2 separate regions of the Homo sapiens genome follow, and region 1 is linked to region 2. The links are contacts of gene promoters, found by promoter capture Hi-C in blood cells and fetal thymus (Javierre and others, 2016). All regions are on one chromosome and are shown on one strand. The core of a region is centred on a gene start or on the middle of the fragment in contact, and the rest is flanking DNA. Distances in the headings are between cores, read along the strand shown.

Region 1 (5,738 bases), core at 2,684-5,183, 92 kb after region 2:
AACTCTTAGTGCTCAGGTTAAACTGAACAAAAGACTTACAAGCCACCTAGTAGGCGTTGACCTTTATACGAAGTCCCTTCCCTTTGGGTGTTCACTTAGAGCAACACTGAGGTCCAGTCCTCCTCTTGGTTTGAGGGACACCACGAGGCTGCATAGAGTCTTCAGCTTCTCTCCTGCTGGGCTTTGCATTCATTGCCCAGCACCGTGAAGGAGGACACCACGGCCCAGCTCCCCTCCTTTGTCATCTCTTGAAAGACCCATGGCTCAGAAAGCAGCGAGCGAGGGAGTAAGCAGGACCATGGAGGTTGCGTTCCTGTTTCTGTCATGCAGTAGACAGTGTGTAGTGACAGATGCCTGCCTGTGGCCACCAGCCCCCTTCCTGAACCCAATGAAACTAAACTGCCCATGTCTTGACCGCTAATTTTGAGATAGTTTAAAAATAGTATGTGGTTTGAAAGGACCTATCCTTCACTGTTAACCACACTCTAGAATTATAAATAGAGTAAAACAGAAGGAATTATTGATCCATCTGTGAAACTGGATTTTAAAAATCTAAAAATTAGATACTTTTGTTTGACAAGGTAAACTTTTTAACGATGAAAACAAACATCGTGTAGTAGAGTAGGAGAGTGGACTTTGGAATCAGAAAATTTGGGTTTGAATCCCAGCTCTGCCACTTTCTGTGTTTCCTTGGATGAATTATTTGATCTCTTTGAGCCCTAATTGCCTAATAGTGTTATGAGAAATAATACATGTCTTACGAAGTTTAGAAAAAATATATGTGAAGTTTGTGCTTTGAATAAGTGACGCCTGTTGCTGCTGTTACTTTTGTTAGTGTTATTGGTTATGCGCCAAGTGTGGTAAACTGAGTCTCTTTACCTGATTCTTTCATTCTTCCTCTGACCTTGAGAGCATCTCCCAGCAGGTTTTTATCCTTTATGTAGCTGACGCCGCAGGCCCAGCGTCACTGTGACTTACCAAGGTCATACAGATATTTACAGGTGGACATAGGACTGGAACCTAGATCTTCTGAGGGCTCCTGAGGAGCTGCGTTTGCGGGTGTGTGTGTGTGCACATGTATGTTTCTGTCAGAATTTGTTTGCTGAATCTGGTCTCAGAAATTCATTTAATTTATCTAGAACTCTCAGGCTCTTTACTGGAATGTTAAAAAAGAAAAAGGACTCAAACAGTGAAGTGAGTTTTCTTTTGTGTCTGCTAGATCCCCATTAGAACCCTCTAGTCCCCCAAATGCCACTGGAGGTCAAAGACATGGTGCTTCCCCCATAGGATGGGTGAGCAGACCATTCATAGGTCATAGGGATTGGCTCAGGGTCCAGGACTGCCCTCCAGGAACAAATGTTCCCTCGTTTTCCCACATTGTCAGGCCCAGCCTAGCCATTGGCGTTAGCTGACAGTGGTCTCATTTCCCCGAGAAGGAATTCGGGAGCTACAGAGGGGCTTTCAGGATCTGTCCCTTGGTGGAGGAGCTGCAGCACTAAGGCTGTCTCTGGTGGAGTTCACATCCAGGTTCACACCGCAGGTCTGGCTGCCCTGTTGTGCCTGTAAATAGTTGTGTTATATTTCCAGTTGAACTGATGAAAACATAGAAATTAGGTAGCCATGCAGATAGAAGTTGTTTTATTATAGACTGGCTGGTTTCCTTTGAAAGTGCCTGACCTAGAAGTGAGGGAATTATATTCAACCACATTAATTTACCAGAATCACCTGTGTCCCCTCCCCCATTCCTACCCACGGTTTAAATCAGAGGTCTGAGATGGGACGGTGGTGTCTAGAGTTTGGTGAAAATCCATGCATGCATTTGGCGTCCAGCAGGGATTGAGAACCACTGTGCCAGAGACCCAGAGTCCAGATTTTCACTCTTTCAGGTGCTACTTTGAGGCCTAATGATAGTAAAATGCCATGAGATGTAAGCACCTGGTATGTTTTTTCTGCTCAAACAACATGTGTGTTGTCTAATATTTCAGGCACACGACTTCGTCGAAGATGAATACAACTTAGTCTGTCAACTCTAAGCACATCCGATGTATGGGGAACACATTTGCCAGACTATTTCAATATAACATGCTGAGTGCAAGGATAGGAGAGGTGCCAATGAAATACCCAGGGTGTAGGGCAGAGTCATGGAAGGCTTCCTGGAGGAAGCATGAGTCTGTAGGATGCAGAGGAGTTTGGGAGGGAAGGGCCCCTGGGTAGAGGCTGCATCCTGAGCAGAGGCACTGGAGCTGCAAAGACCACTGCTGTTGCTGTATTAAAAGGAGAAGGAGCTGCTGTGTGGGGCTCTGAATCAGAGTCCTGGGCTGCAGGCTAGAGAGGAATGGGGCATCTGTGGTTGAGTTTCTGGGAGGGGGCTGAGTCTGGTGAGTTGTGCCATCATTTGGTGAAGGAAGAGTCCTCGGAGAGGTGGAAATGTTGTGTGTCCTTGGCCATCTCATCTGATATGCTGAGGACCACTGGACGTGGGCAAGGGCTTCCCCTCTTGCATACCACACTTGTTCTTTGGGATCTGTTGCCGGCACCACGGGTTGTTGTTGGGATAACGAAGCTATTTCTGTTCCTGGTGCAGCTTGACTTTTCTCAGATTTTTCTTCTGCTGATGTGTTCAGTGTTATTCACAACCGAGAAGAACCTGGTGGGGAGTGAGGGTGGCATGCCTGAGACTCACAGCACCTCCGTCATTCTGTTGCAGCTCACGTGGAAAATGAAGAGCAGTACACCCAGGCTCTGGAGAAGTTTGGCGGCAACTGTGTATGCAGAGATGACCCAGATTTAGGAAGTGCGTTCCTGAAGTTCTCAGTGTTTACAAAGGAGTTGACAGCACTTTTCAAAAACCTGGTAAGCAGCTCTGTGTATGAAATGCTGCGGTTACTTCAGTTGGGAAAGTGGCTCAGTAGAGGATAGTTATGGTTTGTTTGATAAACTAGGAATGCATTTCATAGTTCCTTGGGTACCCAAAAGAATTATGTTTTTATACACATTGGGTCAGTTTGGAATAAAGTTTAAAATTGTAATTTTTACTTTAACAAGACTTAAAATTCAGCTCTGCAATTTAAATGTACACAGCTATGGGACAAAATGGGTAAATGCATTCGTCTTCTTAAGGGCCTCTGACTTGAATTTTTAACAGTTTCTAAACTGTGTAGACTACTCTCCTTCTGGTAATTATAGTAGGCATTTAAGCTTATAATATTTAATAAATATGTTTCAGGCCCATCTTACACAGCAAGGTAACCTGTAATCAAAGCACAGAAATTACCATGAATATTTAAAGGCCTTTTGTGCTCCCAAGTGTAGAACCTAAAAAAAAGCAGGACTGAGAGCAATGCCTCGGTTTTCAGCCGTGGGAATGCGGTGCTGGTGCCTGCTGCCTGTGGCTGCTGCTTGGTGCTGTGGGTGAATTGCGCCTTTCTTGTGCCTGGCAGCTCTGTGCTATCCTCGTGATGGGGACAACATTTTGAAGAAGTGGGCAGCCCAAGAGGGCTGTTTGGGACCCTGCCCGGGTGGAATGGACCCTGGGATCGCTCCAGCTTTTCTTTCCTGTTTTTCTTCTCCAGTTTCTCCTAAAGGTCAGGGAAGGCCAGGTCAAGAACTCAGTAATGCTTTCTCTGTAGGCCACACACAACAGCATCTTTTTCGTGTCCTCTGTTAGGAAGCTCATAACAAGTGAAAAACATAGCTCATTCCTGAGATGGTGATGACAGTGGTTTTGGGAGACCGGCCTTAGAAGGGGAGAAATGAGGGAGCATCACATGTGAGTTCCTAATGGGAAGGGGAAGAGCAGGAGCACTCGGGCCCTTGCTCTTTCTCCCCGTCTTCACTTATGAACATTTCTGTAGGAAATGGTAAAAGTAAAAAACTGTTTCTCTGCTCGAGCTTTTCACTTAGAGGAATTTGAAATCCCCTGGGGCTTTGGTCAAGCTCATCCCCCTTCATCCTTATCCTAGAGTGGCGGCCCACCTGCTCAGCAGTGGAGCCCTCGCCCTGCCTCAGCCCCATGCCCTGGACACTGGCAGGCATGCATGGTGGGGTCTCATCACCAGGTCGGGAAAGAGTGGAGATTTTTTTTAAACTGGAGAAACTGCATGGGCCCAGGGTAAAGATCCGTAGATGCTGCCATGGAGGGCGTCTCCTGGTAGAAAAGTCAGTTGGCTGCCTGCTCTCCCCGCACCTGGGTGGATAAGCCCTTTCCATGCACACAGAGCTGCCTGTTAGCTTCCTGGTGCCTCACACTTCAGTACAGATGAGCAGCCTCCAGCATGAGGGAGACCAGAAATAGCAGAAAAATGAACGTACGGGAAGACTGGGATGCAGCATGCTATGAAAGAAGGCCAGGGACACAACTATGGTAAGAAAATATAACATTAAAAATCCAACAGGAAGGGCTGGAGTAGAGGAAATCTCTCAGAAAATAGATCAAAAAGACCAAAAAGTGGGAAATAGATAAAAGACGAGGATTAATTCTCAAGGCCCAGCATCCAACTGGCAGGTGTTTTAGAAAGAGAGAAGGTTGTCATCAATGCAACAAATCTAAAGGCAATTTCTAAAAATGGAACGGAAGAGTCTCCAAGTTGAGAGGCTCACAAGTACCCAGCGCAATAAGGGAAAAGACCTACCCTGAGGCATCCCTGTGTGAACTTGCAAAAGATCTTAAAAGCTTCCAGACAGCAGCCGGAGGATTCAGAATCAGAATGGTGGTGAACTTCTCAGCAGCAGCACTGGAAACGTTATGGCATGGAGCAATGCCATTAAAATCGTGAGGAAACTAACTCAGCCTGGAATGATGCCCAGCCAATCAAAGACGAGAGTAGAATTAAAGATATTTTCAGACATGCAAGGCTTAAAAACTTTGGCTCCCATGTGTCATTTCTCTGAAACTCCTAAAGGATGTGTTTTAGTAAAATGAAGGGAAAAGCCAAGAAAGAAGAAATTGAGAGTCAGGAAACAGGACCCAACACAGGAAAGCAAGCAGTGGAAGGGAATTCCAAGAGGATCATGGCGAAGGGAAGTCCCAGCGGGGCTGCCAAGCAGGGGGCCTAGAAAGCAGCCAGCCCAGGACGGCTGACGACGTAGGAGACGGGTGGAGGCCCGGGTTCTGCTTCTCACTCCCAGACTGCCCTTTTACCTTTATTCAGCTGATATCTAGACCTGGATTGTCTCAGCTGTAACATGGAGATAATAATACCATACCTGATTGTGTGGATAGATTATAGCCAGCCGGTGACTCTTACACAGGATAGCTTACTTAATTCTTATGACAATCCCATAAGGTCAGTCAATGTCATCCCCACTTTACAGATTAGATAACTGAGGCCCTGAATGGTTTGAAGAGCTAATATCTGGCCCGGCACAGTGGCTCACATGTGTCATCCCAGCACTTTGGGAGGCCAAGGTGGGCGGGTTGCTTTGAACCCAGGAGTTCAAGACCAGCCTGGGCAACATGGGGAACCCCTGTTTCTACAAAAAAATACAAAACTTAGCCAGGCGTGGTGGCTCACGGCTGTAGTCCCTGCTACTCGGGAGGCTGAGGCTGAAGAATTGCTTAAGCCCAGGAAGCGGAGATTGCAGTGAGCTGACATCACGCCCCTGTACTCCACCTGGGCGACAGAGAGTGAGACCCTGTCTCAAAAACAAAAGAAGCAGCAGCTAATATCTCTCTTGGGAGGCTCAGAGTCCTTGCCTAGGCAGGCCCACTTGGAGCACTCCACACCATGGAATCCGGA
Region 2 (5,699 bases), core at 1,184-3,683:
AAGGGCCAGATATGTGTGGATTCAGAAATTTTCGGATTTTAGAAAGGTAACACATTGCATATAATAACATATTCCTAATTACCCCCAGTAGGGTCTGGGGCAATACTTCATAATCAACCATGTTTATATTTTGCAGCAAAACATACATATTCACATGAGGTAGGATAAACAAGACCACACATAGCCTCACATCAGTTCATTTCAGATGAATTTTACTATTAAGAACTATTTGTAAAGCTACATTTTCAGGGATTTTTAGTAATTCTGGTTAAGGAAGTATAGGCCTGTAAGGACATTACCAGCATACTCTTCTTCTCTTGATGCATTTAAAAAAATGAGTATGTGTAGAGTGTTTCCTTGATCCATGTTGAACTTTAATTTTATTGTTATTTATTGGAAGCTACTCATTCTTATATTAATCTCAGAAAGGCATTAGCTATGTTTTGCTCTGGTCTTGCTTTAATTCTAGGCTTATGCAGTAGGCAAGTTAGATTTCTAAGGGATGATGGAGGAATAAATGGCTCTAGCATTCTACCAATTTGGTATCCTCTTTAGGCCACCAATGAACTTGGTAACTAATTGTTGTTTTCCACCAGCCTTGCAATGCAACACAGCTTTGCAATTTTATTTTTTTGAGGCTACTAAAGCTTCCTGTATCTGCAAAATTAAACTAAAAGAAACAAGAACCGGAGTTGTATATAAAGAGAGAACAGAGAATACCAAGCTTAACTTTGTCCTTGTAGAAGTATTGATTAGTCTGGTTAATGCTGTACTAGACATCAAGGAAAAACCCGACTTTCTTTCTTAGATCCCTCATAGCCTCATAGAGACCAGCCCTCTACAAATCAAGACTTGAAAAGTTATTCAGCATATTCCCTCATGTCAAAAACTGTAGCTGGGAAACTAGGTAGGCGGGAACAGAATCTGCCTGGTGTTGGAGAGGATGTATTAATATAAATAATAAACACAAAACATGAATTGTAGAAGGTTGCAAATAGAGGAAAACTTCAGACACCAAAAGGATCAAAAAACATAAAAAGAAACAGATACAATTTTTAAATTGTAACTTGTTGTCTAGTGCAATGATAAAAGCTATCCACGAATACAGCGATTTTAGAAAGTTAAATTTTACATGCAGTGCTACTAAAATACCAAAGGCCATACATAATGTCTGACCCAAGCTGCCACCTCATATAGCAACTTCTTACATGGGGGCTTTAAAAAGATTGTTTGACTGGTCTACTGTCCTGCAGTGTCAGGAGACGGCTTTGTCTGACATATTGAATTTCCAGTGTCTCTCACACTTCCTCCTTTTCAGATGCACAAAAGGTTTTTGTAAAGTTTCTCTTGGTTTTACCGCTGGCAGCTACAGAAACCATGCCACAAGTCTGGTGTAGAGTTATAGGGTGTGATTTTATTTGACTGGTATCTTCAGAGCTTCTGGATTTTTCAGTATAACCGAGAATTTCCTTAAGAGCTGTAAATAAAAATCGGTACCAGTTCGAACCCTTTACTGGCCCGGTTTTGTGTGAGGTTGGCTGGCTGCTGTAGCACGTTCTCCCCCTCCTCCTCCTCCTGCACCCCCTCGGTTCCCTCCTCTGCCTGCGGGAATACCACTTCAGGGCGTTCAGCAGCCTTCCCAGGGTGGGTCCTGGCCTAGTACCCTAAAACTATAACCGAGAATACCTATCATTGGGCAGCCTAGGAAACGCGACTGGGACTTTTAGTAGGGGCCCCTCACCGCTCTGAAGCACTCACACTTGAGTCAGGGAACATGGGTTTGAATCCCCACCCGGCCGTTTATCTTGTGCTCTTGGGCACACTGTGTCCCCTATATAAAATAAGCACCCATCTCTTCATCTGTCTCCTAGGCCTGCGACGATGCAATGACTGCACGCAAAGCGCACATTCACGGTCAGGTCACTTCTGGCGTCCGGCTGTGGTCCCCGCAGGGTGCCCGCCGGCGGAGCGCATCCTCCGGCAGGGGGCGAGCTCCGCACCCCGCTTTCCTCATGGGCCGGCGCGGCCCGCCGTTCAAGTGGGGAGCCCAGAGGTGCTCCGCGCCGTGGGCGGGGGGCGGTTGGCGCGCACAAGGCCGGACTCCGGCGGGGCGCACCTCCACACGCACCCTCGCGGGCAGCGGGTCGGAGTCGGGGCCTCGGGCCGGCTGGGGGCGGGGCATGGGCGCGGCGCGCGGGGCCCGGAACGCCGAGACAATGCGGCGCGCGGCGGCCAGGAACGGCTCGGCGGGCCGGGGCGCGCGCCGCCTTCCTTCCTGCGGGATCCGCTTCCCGGCGGCGCGGCAGCGGCGAGCGCGCCGATTGGCGGCCCGGTCCTCCCGCCGCCCCGCCCCACGCCCGGCCGGCCGCCGCCCCCGGCCCGGACCCGCCCCTCTCCGCGGGAGGCGTCGGGGCCCGCGGCTGGGTGGCGGGTAGTTCCCGCCGGCTGTGCGCGCCCGCCTCGGGGCTCGCTCTGAGAGGACGCGGCGGCAGCGGACTCGGAGCCCTCGGCGCGCAGGCGGGCGGACCGGCCGAGCTGCGCGGGGCTGCGCGCCGCCCCTGCTCCGCCGCCAGGCCCCGCGCGGCTCCCGCGCCCGGCGCTCCCCTTTGTCCGCGGGCCGGAGCGGCGGCGGCAGCGGCGGTGTCCGAGCGGCGGTCGGAGCCTGCTGCGGCAGTTGAGGCGGCGGCGCCCCTGCGGCTGTGCGCCAGCGCCCTCGCGCCGAGGCGATGCCGGACCAGATCTCCGTGTCGGAATTCGTGGCCGAGACCCATGAGGACTACAAGGCGCCCACGGCCTCCAGCTTCACCACCCGCACGGCGCAGTGCCGGAACACTGTGGCGGCCATCGAGGAGGTGAGGCGGCCTGCGCGGCGGCTCCGGCCGCAGGTATCCCGCGCCCCAGCCCCGCCCGCCGCTCCCGCATCCGCATCCCGAGAAAACTTTCTTTGCTCCGAAGCCGGACGCGGCCGGGCCAACCCTGCCCGAGACAGAAGCCCTTTGTTCCCGCCTAGGTGGCTCGGAGGAGATGGGTGATGGCCACCTTGGGCCTCTTTAAGACCTCCCCTCTCTCGGCCTCGTGGCCCTCGCGGGGTTCCGCGGCCTGGTCTTTTCCCCGCAGCGCGGCCAACTTTGTCCAGAGTCGGGGTCCGCGGCGAGCGGGGGATCCCGCTGCCCGCCGCCGCCCGCCGCCGCCCGGGGTCTTTGGTACCCGGTGCGGACCTTATCAACTTGTTCTTGAAGTGGACCGGCGGGGGCAGCTCCGCGCTCCGAGCTCCCCGCCGCAGCCCCCGAGCGCCGCAGGGCCCCCACCCTCGGGTCCGCGGGTCCGGGGCATCCCGGGCTGCCCGGGAAGGCGTGCCCGCCTCAGCCAGGGCGGCCTGGCTGCGCTCCACCCGTGCCCGGAGAAGGAACTGCGGGCAAGGTGTGTGAGAGTCGGCGCTTCTGGGTCCAAGAAGCCTCCAGGAGCCGCTCCCCGGTTACCTGGGTCTCACCTGCTTGAACCCGGAATGCCGCCCTTCCCCCTCAACCTGGAAAAGGCCTGGTTTTAGTAAAGTGCTCTCAAGGTGCAAAGTCATCACGCCTAGCTGCTAAGCAGTACGCTCTCCAGGTCCTGGGGAGAGGAACACGTAGGAACGAAGAAGCTTGGTTGAAAATTAAAGCCGTGGGGAAAGGGGCAGAGTCTGTGAGTCCAGGGGCCACCGTTGGCTGTGGTTTGAGGCACATCCTCACCTGCAGTCCTCCTTTTCCTTACCCATCAAACGGGATTAGTAATGCATCCTTTCCAGGATCAGAGACTGTGTGAAGTGCTTAGCACTCTGCTCGGCTCAGAATAGGTTTACAAGTCACACGTGTGGCAATAGTGAATCTGTGATTAAATGTCTCTGGGCCAGGATGTCAGGTTACAGTTTTAAAATTGGGTATTGCAGGTGTTTTAGCAGAAGACGCCTGGGCTAGCAGGAGTGTGTGTGTGGGTGGGGGGGTGGGTGTCACCAAAGAGCTTTAAATGAAGCAATGGCGTTATTTTTTTTTTCTGGTTTTTTTTTTTTTTTCCCATTTGAACAAAGCATCTGCTATTAGGAATTGCTTGAAAAAAAATCCAGAATGTTTTCCCTTAATGGAAAAATTTTTTCTTTGTAGCTGTAAACAGTCAATAAAAGGGAGTCAAAAGTAACATTCAGCATTCTGAATCCTGTTAATATAACTTGGGTAGCCTTCCTTCTCTCCATTTAATTTGGCGGAAGAGAGCTGCATGTAAACCTTTCCTATGAATTCGGTGATTCCCCAGATCACTTAATTCTACTTTTAGCAGCAAGGCTTACAGATGATGCCTTCAAATGAGGCAGATGGGGATGGGTGAATGAAATTTTTTCCTAAGTGCCAGTTAAAAAGCACGGTGTTTTGAGAATACACCATTAATAATGTTTATGGAATGATTGCAACCAAAAAGGTAGCTGAATATTTCTTAAGGGAAGGAAGCATTGTGCATGATGTCTTTCTTTAGAAAGCTTGATTATGTTTAAAGTTCTGTTGCTTTTCCCCACTGCAGTTTGTCAGTTAAATATTATTAACACTGGCAGATGTTGGAAAGCCAAGCAAACAAGAATTGCTATTAAAATTGGCATACCTTTCTCTGATTAATTTTAGTTTACAGTGTATAATTCCAAAGCTCTTTTTGTATGCTGTGCAGGAGATTACCCTAGAGCTCAGTTACTGAGCAGATTACAAAGAGACTGGATTTGGTCATTTCATTAAATTGCAAGCTTGCTTCATGCTGCCGTCTAAGCCCAAGAATTGGTTCAAGTCTCAAAATGGAAAAATTAAAATCATTTCAGGTTTATTTCACTTTAAGCAAATCTACATACATGCTATGATGATGGTATGTGTGAGCTTGGTTTTATAACTAAATTTGAAAGTTGTTCACTTTCTGAGGTAAATCAATGTGGATTTCTTTAAATAATGCTCTTTCCCAGGTGTCTAATGTTCGTGTCTATTACCAAAACTTGTTCTATGTATGGTTTAATAACAATTGATGTGTACAGTATTTTGGTTTTAAACAAAAATCTTCTCATACTGAGACGAAACATGAGAGGGTATCATGACATAAAGTTACTCATTTAACAAATAAATAAAATTTGCAAGCTCTTGGTCTTATGTTTAAACAAATGAATCACGGAACTAGCAAACTAATTTTATATTTATTTATTTATTTGTTACGGAGTTTTGCTCTTGTTGCCCAGGCTGGAGTGCAATGGCACAATCTTGGCTCACTGCATCCTCTGCCTCCCAGGTTCAAGCGATTCTCCTGCCTCAGCCTCCCAAGTAGCTGGGATTACAGGCATGCGCCACCATGCACAGCTAATTTTTTGTATTTAGTAGAGATGGGGTTTCACCATGTTGGTCAGGCTGGTCTCGAACTCCTGACCTCAGGTGATCCACCTGCCTCAGCCTCCCACAGTGCTGGGATTACAGGCGTGAGCCACCACACCCGGCCAGCAAACTAATTTTAAACTGATTAACCTTTTTGAATCTGTTATTTCCAATGTAGGTTCTATCTGCCAAAGAATCATTTTACAATTAAAATGTGCTGTTTTGATTTGCATACTTGTTGCTGGAATATTATTATAGTAACTGTTGGGCCCTTATCCTGTACTATGAAACTCACAGGTATTGAATTCAGTCCTTATCTCTGCTTTATAGGCG

The links. The method cuts DNA at HindIII sites, captures the fragments that hold promoters and counts their contacts. A CHiCAGO score of 5 or more calls a contact.
Region 1: a fragment that was not itself captured here is called in contact with the fragment with the promoter of ASAP2 in region 2 in 2 of 17 cell types (endothelial precursors and megakaryocytes); the score reaches 7.0 in endothelial precursors.

Annotation. Positions count from the first base shown.
Region 1 is chr2:9,294,593-9,300,330 of GRCh38, forward strand. ASAP2 (ArfGAP with SH3 domain, ankyrin repeat and PH domain 2) reads left to right here. Exons shown (of 28, transcript NM_003887.3): 3 at 2,708-2,853. Among named protein-coding and RNA genes, the nearest start is that of ASAP2, 91 kb to the left of the region's middle. RefSeq lists an enhancer at 5,060-5,559. The HindIII fragment of the contact is 1,474 bases long and covers 3,197-4,670 here.
Region 2 is chr2:9,204,379-9,210,077 of GRCh38, forward strand. It overlaps ASAP2 (ArfGAP with SH3 domain, ankyrin repeat and PH domain 2), which reads left to right and starts at 2,434. Exons shown (of 28, transcript NM_003887.3): 1 at 2,434-2,852. The coding sequence starts at 2,727. RefSeq lists enhancers at 1,583-2,515, 2,516-3,446 and silencers at 1,964-2,223, 1,970-2,153. The HindIII fragment of the contact is 2,916 bases long and covers 723-3,638 here.